2 separate regions of the Homo sapiens genome follow, and region 1 is linked to region 2. The links are contacts of gene promoters, found by promoter capture Hi-C in human tissues and cell types (Jung and others, 2019). All regions are on one chromosome and are shown on one strand. Each heading gives the region's core, a stretch centred on a gene start or on the middle of the fragment in contact. The rest is flanking DNA. Distances are from core to core; before and after follow the strand shown. Region 1 overlaps INO80 (INO80 complex ATPase subunit). Region 2 holds the start of RPUSD2 (RNA pseudouridine synthase domain containing 2).

Region 1 (4,751 bases), core at 203-2,702, 530 kb before region 2:
CTTGCTTTGTTGCCCAGGCTGGAGTTCAGTGGCACAGTCTTGGCTCACTGCAACCTCCACCTCCCAGGTTCAAGCGATTCTCCTGCCTCAGCCTCCTGAGTAGCTGGGACTACAGGTGCGTGCCACCAAGCCCAGCTACTTTTTTGTATTTTTAGTAAAGGCGGGATTTCACTGTGTTAGCCAGGTTGGTCTCGAATTCCTGACCTTGTAATCTGCTCGTCTCAGCCTCCCAAAGTGCTGGGATTACAGGCATGAGCCACCATGCCCGCCAAGAAATAGTCATATCTTTTGTACTAGTATGGAGAATCACCTTGACTAAGAGTTACAAATAGGCCGGGTGCGGTGGCTCACGCCTGTAATCCCAGCACTTTGGGAGGCCGAGGTGGGTGGATCACGAGGTCAGGAGATCGAGATCATCCTGGCTAACACAGTGAAACCCCGTCTCTACTAAAATACAAAAAAACTTAGCCAGGCGTTGTGGCGGGCGCCTGCAGTCCCAGCTACTCGGGAGGCTGAGGCAGGAGAATGGCTTGAACCTGGGAGGCGGAGCTTGCAGTGAGCAGAGATCTCGCCACTGCACTCCAGCCTGGGTGACAGAGCAAGACTCTGTCTCAAAAAAAAAAAAAAAAGTTACAAATAAAGTCTGTTTGTGTTGGTGACTCAAATATCACAGCAAGTAAGAGGAAACTATTGAGCTAAGGTGAAATAAAAGAGGATGGAATGATTTGCTCTTCAGGCTCTTCCAAGATGAGCGGGGAATGACTTCAGCATTTTGAGGAAGAGGGAAAAAAGATTTGAAGTAATCTTGGTAGAGAATGAGAAACAATTGGTAGAAGGTGGGTAAAAGGGTTATTGAGAATTATCAAGTGTTTTGCTGAAGTTGGACGATAACAGATGGGTCAGGTTGATGGCCATGCAGTTTCCTTGTAGGGAATAAGAGACAAATGAGGAGATGAAAGTGGTTATTGCAGCAGCAGCTTTTAACATGCTAATCAAGACTAGGCTGAATTGAGAGGCCAGCAATCTTAAAAGGTGATTAAGAAATGATTGTCAGCCGGGTGGGTGGCTCATGCCTATAATCCCACTACTTTGGGAGGCTGAGGTGGGTGGATCACTTGATGCCAGGCGTTTGAGACCAGCCTGGCCAACATGGTAAAACTCCATCTCTACTAAAAATACAAAAATTAGCTGTGTGTGGTGGGGTGCGCCTGTAGTCCCAGCTACTTGGGAGGCTGGAGGTGAGAGAATCACTTGAACCCAGGAGGCGGAGATTGTAGTGAGCGGAGATCACCCCATTGTGCTCCAGCCTGGGCGACAGAGGGAGCCTCTGTCTCAAAAAAAAAAAAAAAAGAAAAAATTGTGAATGGTAGTAATGGTTGCACAACAATGTGAATGTATATAATGCCACTGAAGTGTACACTTAAAAATGGTTAAAATGGTAAGTTTTATGTCTTTTGCCACCATAAAGAAAAAAATTGAACACTTAAAAAATATAACTTGGTTCTCCAGATGTCATCATAGGACTTCTTGTGGAGAATTTTGTGCTTACAGCACCTTTTTTTGGTGGTATTGTGGACATAAGGGAATTCATTGCAGCTGTCATTTCAGCCATCAGTGGTGATATGCTGCAAAGATGATTTCTGGGATGAATCAGTTGACAGGACTGATGTATACTGGGTGTCAAAAGGGAGCATATATTGAGGATTGTAAGACTAGAAGTTAACTGTGATCTTTCTTCAACAAATTGTTTTTGATTTCATACTCACATAGGTACTGAGGAATAAGTTTTGAAAATATTCCATTCATTGGCCGGGCACAGTGGCTCACACCTGTAATCCCAGCACTTTGGGAGGCCGAGGCGGGCGAATCACGAGGTCAGGAGATCGAGACCATCCTGGCTAACACAGTGAAACCCCGTCTGTACTAAAAATACAAAAAGTTAGCCTGGCGTGGTGGCAGGCGCCTGTAGTCCCAGCTACTCGGGAGGCTGAGGCAGGAGAATGGCGTGAACCTGGGAGGCAGAGCTTGCAGTGAGCCGAGATTGGGCCACAGCATTCCAGCCTCGGCTACAAGACTTTGTCTCAAAAAAAAAAGAAAAGAAAATATTCCATTCATTTCGAATCACTCCGTATTACTTGGTAGTCATACCTCCTTAATTAGTGTCATTTTCCTTATCAGGTAAAATAACTAGAGCATGGATTAATTGTTCTGTAATAAAAGCTTGGGATGGAGCCAAGCAGAGTAGTTTTACATTTATACATGTATCAAGATGAATTATTTGCTGTTCTCTTAAGGGAGTTTTGTTGTATTTTAAAAACCAATTTCTTTGAAATCTTCTGGAGTGGGTGGGTACACGTTAGGTCTCATTTTGAAAAGGTGAAATTTAAAGTTTTTTTTTTTTTGGATAGTCTCACTCTGTTATGCAGGCTGGAGTACAGTGGTGCGTTCATGACTTACTGAGGTCTCAACCTCCTGGGCTCAAACCATCCTCCCTCCTCAGCCTCCCAAGTGGCTGGGTTTACAGGTGCATGCCACTACACTCAGCTAATTTTTAAATTTTTTTGTAGAGACAAGGTCTCGCCATGTTACTCAGGCTGGTCTTGAACTCTTGGGCTCAAGCTCTCCTCCTGCCTCACCTCCCAAAGTGCTGGGATTACAAGCTTCAGCCACTGCTCCTGGCCAAAAGTATTTTTTAGCATTCTTTTTTCTTTATATTACCAAGACTGACAATTTACAAACTATGAAATTCACATAATTTAAATAAAATATACAGTTCAGTATATTTTGAATATATTTTTGGTAGATTTACAGAATTGTGGAACTATCGCCACAATGGGAGTTTGGAACATTTTTTTTTTCCCTTTTTCTTTCCCTCTCTCTCACTCTCTTGTTGTGTGTGTGTGTGTGTGTTTGTTTTTTTTTTTTTTTTTTTTTTTTTTTTTTGAGACAGGGTCTTACTCCAGGCTGGAGCACAGTGGCACAATGATAGCTCACTGCAGCCTTGACTTCCTGGGCTTAAGCAATCCTCTCACCTCAGCCTCTTGAGTAGCTGGCACTACAGGCACGCATCACCATACTTGGCTAATTTTTAAATTTTTTGTAGGGACACGGTCCTGCTATGTTGCCCAGGCTGGTCTCAAACTCCTGGGCTCAAGGGATCCACCCACTTCAGCCTCCTAAATGTTGAGATTATAGGTGAGAGCCACTGTGTCTAGCCTGTCTTTTTTATTATTCTAGTGGGTATGAAGTAGTATGGTGCTTTAATTTTAATTTATTAATATTTAGCATTTTTTCATGTGTCTATTAGCTAGTCATACATCTTTGTTGGTAAAATGTTCAAAATCTTTTGCTCATTTTTAAATTGGGTTATTTATCTTATAGAGTTGTAGGTTTTATGTGTACACACTGACAAACAACTGTGTAAAAAAAAAGTTGTATATGTGGATACAAGACCTTTATCAGATAGATGATTTGCAAGTATCTTCTAGTCTGTGGCTTGTCTTCATTTTCTTTTTCTTTTTTTTGTCACCCAGGCTGGAGTACAGTTGCAAGATCATGGCTCACTGTAGCCTCAACCTCCTGGGCTGTAAGTGATCCTCCCACTTCAGCCTCCCGAATAGTTTGTCCAGAGGCCTGTGCCACCATGCCCAGCTAATTTTAAATTCTTTTGAAGAGATGAGATCTCACTGTGTTGCCCAGGTTGATCTTGTTTTCCTGGGCTGAAGTGATCCTCCCACTTCAGTCTCCCAGAGTGCTGGGATTACAGGCATGAGCCACTGTGCCTAGTTTGTCTTCATTTTCTTAATGATATATTTTAAAGTGTAAACATTTTTAATTCGCATGGGCTAATTTTTGATCTTTTGTGCTTTTGATTGCATATCTAGAATTTTTTATGGTCAGTCATGAAGATTTTCTCCTGGTTTTTCTAGAAGTTACACTGTTTTAGATAGGAAAGTTATATTAGAAAATTGTAAAAAAAAGAGAAGACAACTCAAAGATGTATGATTGCCTTTAAAGCTTATCACTTAGTTGGCCGGGCGTGGTGGCTCACGCCTGTAATCCCTGCACTTTGGGAGGCTGAGACAGGCGGATCACAAGGTCAGGAGATCAAGACCATTCTGGCCAACACGGTGAAACCCTGTCTCTACTAAAAATACAAAAAAACCGCCACAAATAAACAAAAAAACTTATCATTTCATTTAGTTGTTGTTGTTGTTGTTGTTTTTTGAGATGGGGTTTTGCTCTCGTTGCCCAGCCTGGAGTGCAGTGGCACAGTCTCGGCTCACTGCAACTTCTGCCTCCCAGGTTCAAGTGATTCTCCTGCCTCAGTCTCCTGAGTAGGTGGGATTACAGACGCCTGCCACCATGCCCAGCTAATTTTTGTATTTTTAGTATTTTTGTATTTTAGGCTGGGTACAGTGGCTCATGCCTGTAATCGTAGCACTTTGGGAGGTTGGGACTGGTGGATCACCTGAGGTCAGGAGTTCCAGACCAGCCTGACCAACATGGTGAAACCCCATCTCTACTAAAAATACAACAAATTAGCTAGGTGTGGTGGTGGACGCCTGTAATCCCAGCTACTTGGGAGCCTGAGGCAGGAGAATCACTTGAACCTGTGAGGCAGAGGTTGCAGTGAGCTGAGATCACCCTACTGCAAGAGCGAAACTCCGTCTGAAAAAAATCATAACAATAATTTATGGTTTATTGAGTATTTATGTCATTTGGTGGGCTTATTAGTCTAAATTATGTCA
Region 2 (5,273 bases), core at 143-2,642:
CCATTCCCCAAATGCTGTAATCGCCTTTTCTCCACTCACAACCATGGTAAACTAGTGTTACTGAGAGGTAAACAGTGTTACTTCTGACAGGGGTGTCTGGTACCTCATAGATGTGATGGAATTTTAAAGGAGTCAAAGCACTGGGCTAAACAATTCTAGTCTCTATCCCTGACATCTCATAACTCTATGTTAAATAGTTTAAGTAGTAGTTATAGGAACATAGGCTTTGGTAGTGGCACTGTTGATAGCCTTACCCCTGTGAGTTTCCTTAGTTTCCTCAGAGGTAAAATGGAGTGGCAATACCTACTTCACAAGGCTGTCATTAGAATTAGTGGACATACAATGTTTAACTTTGTGCCCAGCACACAGTAAAGAGACATAAATGATAGCCCCTATTATTACTATTTGCACAGAGATCTACAACGCAGGGTAAAGTGATCAGTGCCCTTGCCACAAGACGGTGTTTAAAGGAATTATGAAAATTCCAACTTCTGTCCCTTGGAAACAAGGAAGCTGCCTTGAGGAAGAGGATAAACAGGCTGAGTCCTGAAGCACAGACACCCTGGCCACTTGCGGAGGTGGGAAACGGGCTAAAATAGTGTTCCAAATGAAAGCGAGAACGCTTTAGAATTGCCATGATTTTAATCCAGTACCTATGCTTTACTAAGACTAAAAAACAAAACAAAACAAAACAAAACCCGGCCCCTTTTCCTCGCCCGCTTCTGGCCAGCCCCATCAGGACTCCACCTTGAGCACGATGTTGAGGTCCTGCACCGGCTTCTCGTTGAGTTGCAGGCGGCCCGCCCGGACCGCGGCCTCATAGTAGGCCAGGGGCTGAGCTCGGAACTCGGTACTGAAGACGTGCAGCAAGCTGTGGCCCACCCAGCGACCTTTGCAGTAGGTCCGGAAGTCAAAGTAATAGGGCCGCACCTTACGCAGGCCGCCCTCGAAGTAATAACTGGTTTCTGCAAAGTGCTCATCTCCGAAGCTCACCCCGGTCCGCCGCTTCTTCGGGGGCGGCACGACACGCTCCCTGGTTGCGCCCCGCCGCTTCTTATGCTTGCCCGGGCCTGGGGCTGCAGCCGAGGGATGCTCCCCGCCTACTGGGGCCGGCTCCACTTCCCGGCCAGCCGGCTTCGGGGGCCCGGGGGACAGCTCAACCTTCGCGTCGCCACCAGCGTCACCGTTTTGCTGATGCGAAGCCCTCAGCCCGCCCTCTGTCCCAACCTGGGTAGACACTGTTTCTGCCATTGGGCCCTTATCGCCACTCCAAGTCCTGGTAAAGCTAGGGCGCCTAAGGTCGTAGCGCCAATGTCCAAGAACCCTGAGCCATCCGCGGCGGTCCAGCCACATAACCACGCTGCCCCCACTCCACTCCCAGGGTCGCGATCTGAGGACGTCACTCGGCCCCAGCGAATCAGGGAGGCCCAGTCCCGAGGCGGGGTCTGCGATAAGTGAGCGAATGAGTGAGCTGCTCGAATTAAATTAGGTGAATTGAGTGAGCTTAGAGATGAGAGACTGTAAATGTCTCACCAAAAGTGACCTTACTCAGACGTCTTCCTATTAGGGAGATACGACGTTATTTATAAAGGAAACCCTTGGAATTGCTCCGTGTAAAGGCCATGACAGGAGTAGGTCGTGTAAATTCCGAGTAGTCCCTTGGGTCTGAAGAAACGCTTGAAAGGAGCTTTATTTAAGACAAAACAAAAACTAACAACCAGAATAAAGATTGCTAAACTCTGCGAATATACTAAAACCCACTGTATTCTATATTTTAAAAGGGTCAATATTATAGTATGTGACTTGTATCTCAGTAAGATTGTTATATATGTATTTAAAACACACACAAGCACCCCAGAAGCAATGTGTTCACACCTGTGTTTCCCCCTAACAGCATGAGAAGGATTAGTGATCCCCATTCGCCTCCCACATGCTTCCATCCTGAGATTAAAACTGCAAATAGATCAGAGGATATATGGCGAGGGTTCTTAAGTGCAAAATAAACCAACTCTGGCTAATTTCATCAGAGATAGAATTATGGAAAGTATATTAGTGCCTCATAGAATTCACAAGACAACTGGAGACTAGGCTCAGAAAAAGGGCCAAATCAAGGGAAACCAAGCCTTTTGAGAGCCTGGCTTCAGACATGTCAGGGAAGAAACCCAGTTGGGATGCAGTAGACACAAGAAACTATGTTGTGCCAAAGGACTCTTTTTCCTGCAGCCCTGCCACCCCTTGGAGACCCCTAAATCTCCCTGTGTCTCTGTGTCCCTCTTCCAAGGTTAAGAGTCCTGCAGGGGAGGACTTCCATCAGCCAAACCTCATTGCTCTGAGCCCTCACTTCCAGGGTGCCTGGAGATGGAAGAATTTAACCCTCTTTTTTTTTTTTTTTTTTTTTTTTTTTGAGACGGAGTCTTGCTCTGTCGCCCAGGCTGGAGTGCAGTGGAGCGATTTCACCTCACTGCAACCTCCGCCTCCTGAGTTCAAGCCATTCTTCTGCCTCAGCCTCCTGAGTGGCTGGGACTACAGGCACGCACCACCACGCCTGGCTAATTTTTATATTATGAGTGCTGGGATTACAGGCGTAAGCCACCGCGCCCGGCCAAGAATCTAACCCTCTTTGGTATCCAGAGTGGGATTCTTCCAAATAAGGAGGCATTTCAATGTTAGTTTGCCAAAAAAAAAAAAAAAAAAAAGACAGTCTAATTCTTATCCTAGGCATTTGTATTCTGGAGAGGAGAAAGGGAAATCTTTTTTAGCTAAATTCCTTCTTCAAGTCATTAGTCTCACCAAACTAACTGAGGGACTGCAGCTGAGGTATCCACAGCTGCAGAACTCCATATGCTGAAAAGTCTGATTCCTGACTACCTCCAGAAATAAGAGGTAGAATTCTCCATTGATTGTGGGGTATGTTAGAACCAAACTACTTCACAGGAGGGACATCATCTCTCAAGTGCATCATTTCATTAAGATATTTACAGTGAAAGCAGAACCTTATCCAAAAGAAAAGTATGTATTCTTAGCTAGCCTCTTTGCTCCATAGGATTGGGGTGGGAGAATTAAATTAGTTAATTCAAGTAAAATACTTGGACTAGTGCCTGGCAAAACTGTGGAGACAGAAAACATAGCAGAATCTTGTTCCTCCTCCCCTTCTGACCTACTAAATGAGAATCTGCACTTTAACATGATCCTCAGGTGATTTTTCTGCATATTAAAGCTTGAGAAGCACTGGCATAGACCATGTAGAGTAGACATTTGTCATATTCTGTAAACATCCAGCATCTTCCGAACACCCTTCTTTTGGGTGGGGAATTTCTCACATTTCATTACTGCCCCCAAAAGGTAGAAGCCAGAGCCTTCCCACACTCTCTTGCAGCTTGGACATAGGCATTTGACCTGGGCTCTATCTCTTAGACAGAGGCTTTGGTTCAGAGGCACACAGCCGCGGAAGCAGGCTCAGTGTGAAATCCGTGTCTAACAAGGTAGCATTGGAGGCATCTAATCTGGGAGGCCAACAGTCGGGGAGGTTCTTGTGTCAAGTACCCAATCGACGAATAATGCCAGCTATAGATGTTCAGTGGCTGTGGGGTGTTCCCTGAGCAGTCTCTCAGTGAGATTCAGATACTGTCCCTGGCTGTATAGACCTAAAGCCTGACTCTCCACTCACCTTGAGGTTCTGTGAACTATGTAATATTCTCCAATCCTGTGCTATACAATAGGATCACCATTAGCCATGTGCTGTACAATAGCCACATGTGGCTAATTAAATTTAAATTAATTAAAATTTTAACAAGTTTTGAAACAAGATCTCACTCCCATCACCCAGGCTGGAGTGCAGTGGCACGATTTTGGCTCACTGCAGCCTTGACTTCCCAAACTGAAGTGATCCTCCCACCTCAGGCTCCCTAGTAGCTGAGACGACAGACATGTGCCACCATGACTGGCTAATTTTTTGTATTTTTAGTAGAGACGAGGTTTTGCCACATTGCCTAGGGTGGTCTCAAACTGGGCTCAAACAATCCATCCACCTTGGCCTCCCAAAGTGTTAGGATTACAGGCCGGATGTGGTGGCGCAACCTCCGCCTCCTGGGTTCAAGTAGTTCTCCTACCTCAGCCTCCTGAGTAGCTGGGATTACAGGCATGCGCCTCCACGCCCAGTTAATTTTTGTATTTTTAGTAGAAACAGGGTTTCACCATGTTGGCCAGGCTGGTCTCGAACTGCTGATCTCAGGTGATCCACACCCCCTCAGCCTCCCAAAATTCTGGGATTACAGGCATGAGCCACCAAGCCCGGCCAGGAACTGAATTTTAAATTGTATTTTAGCTGGGCGCAGTGGCTCACATCTGTAATCCTAAAACTATGTTGTTTTTGTTGTTGTTGTTTTCTTTTTCTTTCTTTCTTTTTTTTTTTGAGACGGAGTCTTGCTCTGTCACCCAGGCTGGAGTGAGAACTATTTCCTCAGCCAAGTTACTTGGCTACTGATGGTTGGCTGATGTCTTTCATCACGTGTTTCTTGGGAGAGAGTAACTGGTGTTGATCCTGGAAGCTGGGGATGGGGAGGGGTCGATCTCAATGAACAAGCTGGTATCTATCCCCTGAAGGATATCAAAGGTCATCTCCTTTAACAACTACAACAACAAAGCATTCTGACACACACTTCTTATGACCACTCTCTCCTTTATGTACTCTGGCCACACTTCCATCATATACTCTATAATCCTCAACGCCCCCCTCCTTTTTTTTTTTTGAGACAGTCTTGCTCTGTTGCCCAGGTTGGAATGCAGTGGTGCGATCTTGTCTCACTGCAACCTCTGCCTTCCCGGTTCAAGCGATTCTCCTGCCTGAGCCTCCCGAATAGCTAGGATTCCAGGCATGTGCCACCATGCTCAGCTAATTTTTGTACTTTTAGTAGAGACAGAGTTTCACCATGTTTCACCCAGGCTGGTCTCGAACTCCTGACCTCAGGTGATCCACCTGCCTCGGCCTCCTAGAGTACTGGGATTACAGGCGTGAGTCACCGCGCCCGGCTGTCTATCACTGTTTACTGTTATTTGTAAACTTTTATGCCTCCATGGCGGACCCCCTTCCTACACTACTAAGCTGTAAGGATCTCCAGGACTTATATCAAGTCATATGTGTCTTAACTTCACGCTTAACACAATGCTTAGAACACAGCAGGTGCTTGGTATCTATTGACTAAATGAATGAAGGAAAGCTTCATAATTTGATGAATGAGACACGAGTCTCCTGGGAGAGTAAGGAAAGAAGCCGC

Evidence for each region. The method cuts DNA at HindIII sites, captures the fragments that hold promoters and counts their contacts. A contact is called where the count stands out against the background at its distance.
Region 1: a fragment that was not itself captured here is called in contact with the fragment with the promoter of RPUSD2 in region 2 in 1 of the 25 tissues and cell types used here (adrenal gland).

Annotation. Positions count from the first base shown.
Region 1 is chr15:41,097,430-41,102,180 of GRCh38, reverse strand. The region is part of intron 1 of INO80 (INO80 complex ATPase subunit); the gene reads left to right. Among named protein-coding and RNA genes, the nearest start is that of INO80, 16 kb to the left of the region's middle. The HindIII fragment of the contact is 3,775 bases long and covers 1-3,339 here.
Region 2 is chr15:40,565,418-40,570,690 of GRCh38, reverse strand. RPUSD2 (RNA pseudouridine synthase domain containing 2) reads right to left here and starts at 1,392. Exons shown (of 3, transcript NM_152260.3): 1 at 748-1,392. The coding sequence starts at 1,353. RefSeq lists enhancers at 761-810, 560-1,059, 1,121-1,450, 4,427-4,721, 5,201-5,250 and a silencer at 3,295-3,474. The HindIII fragment of the contact is 11,995 bases long and covers 1-4,217 here.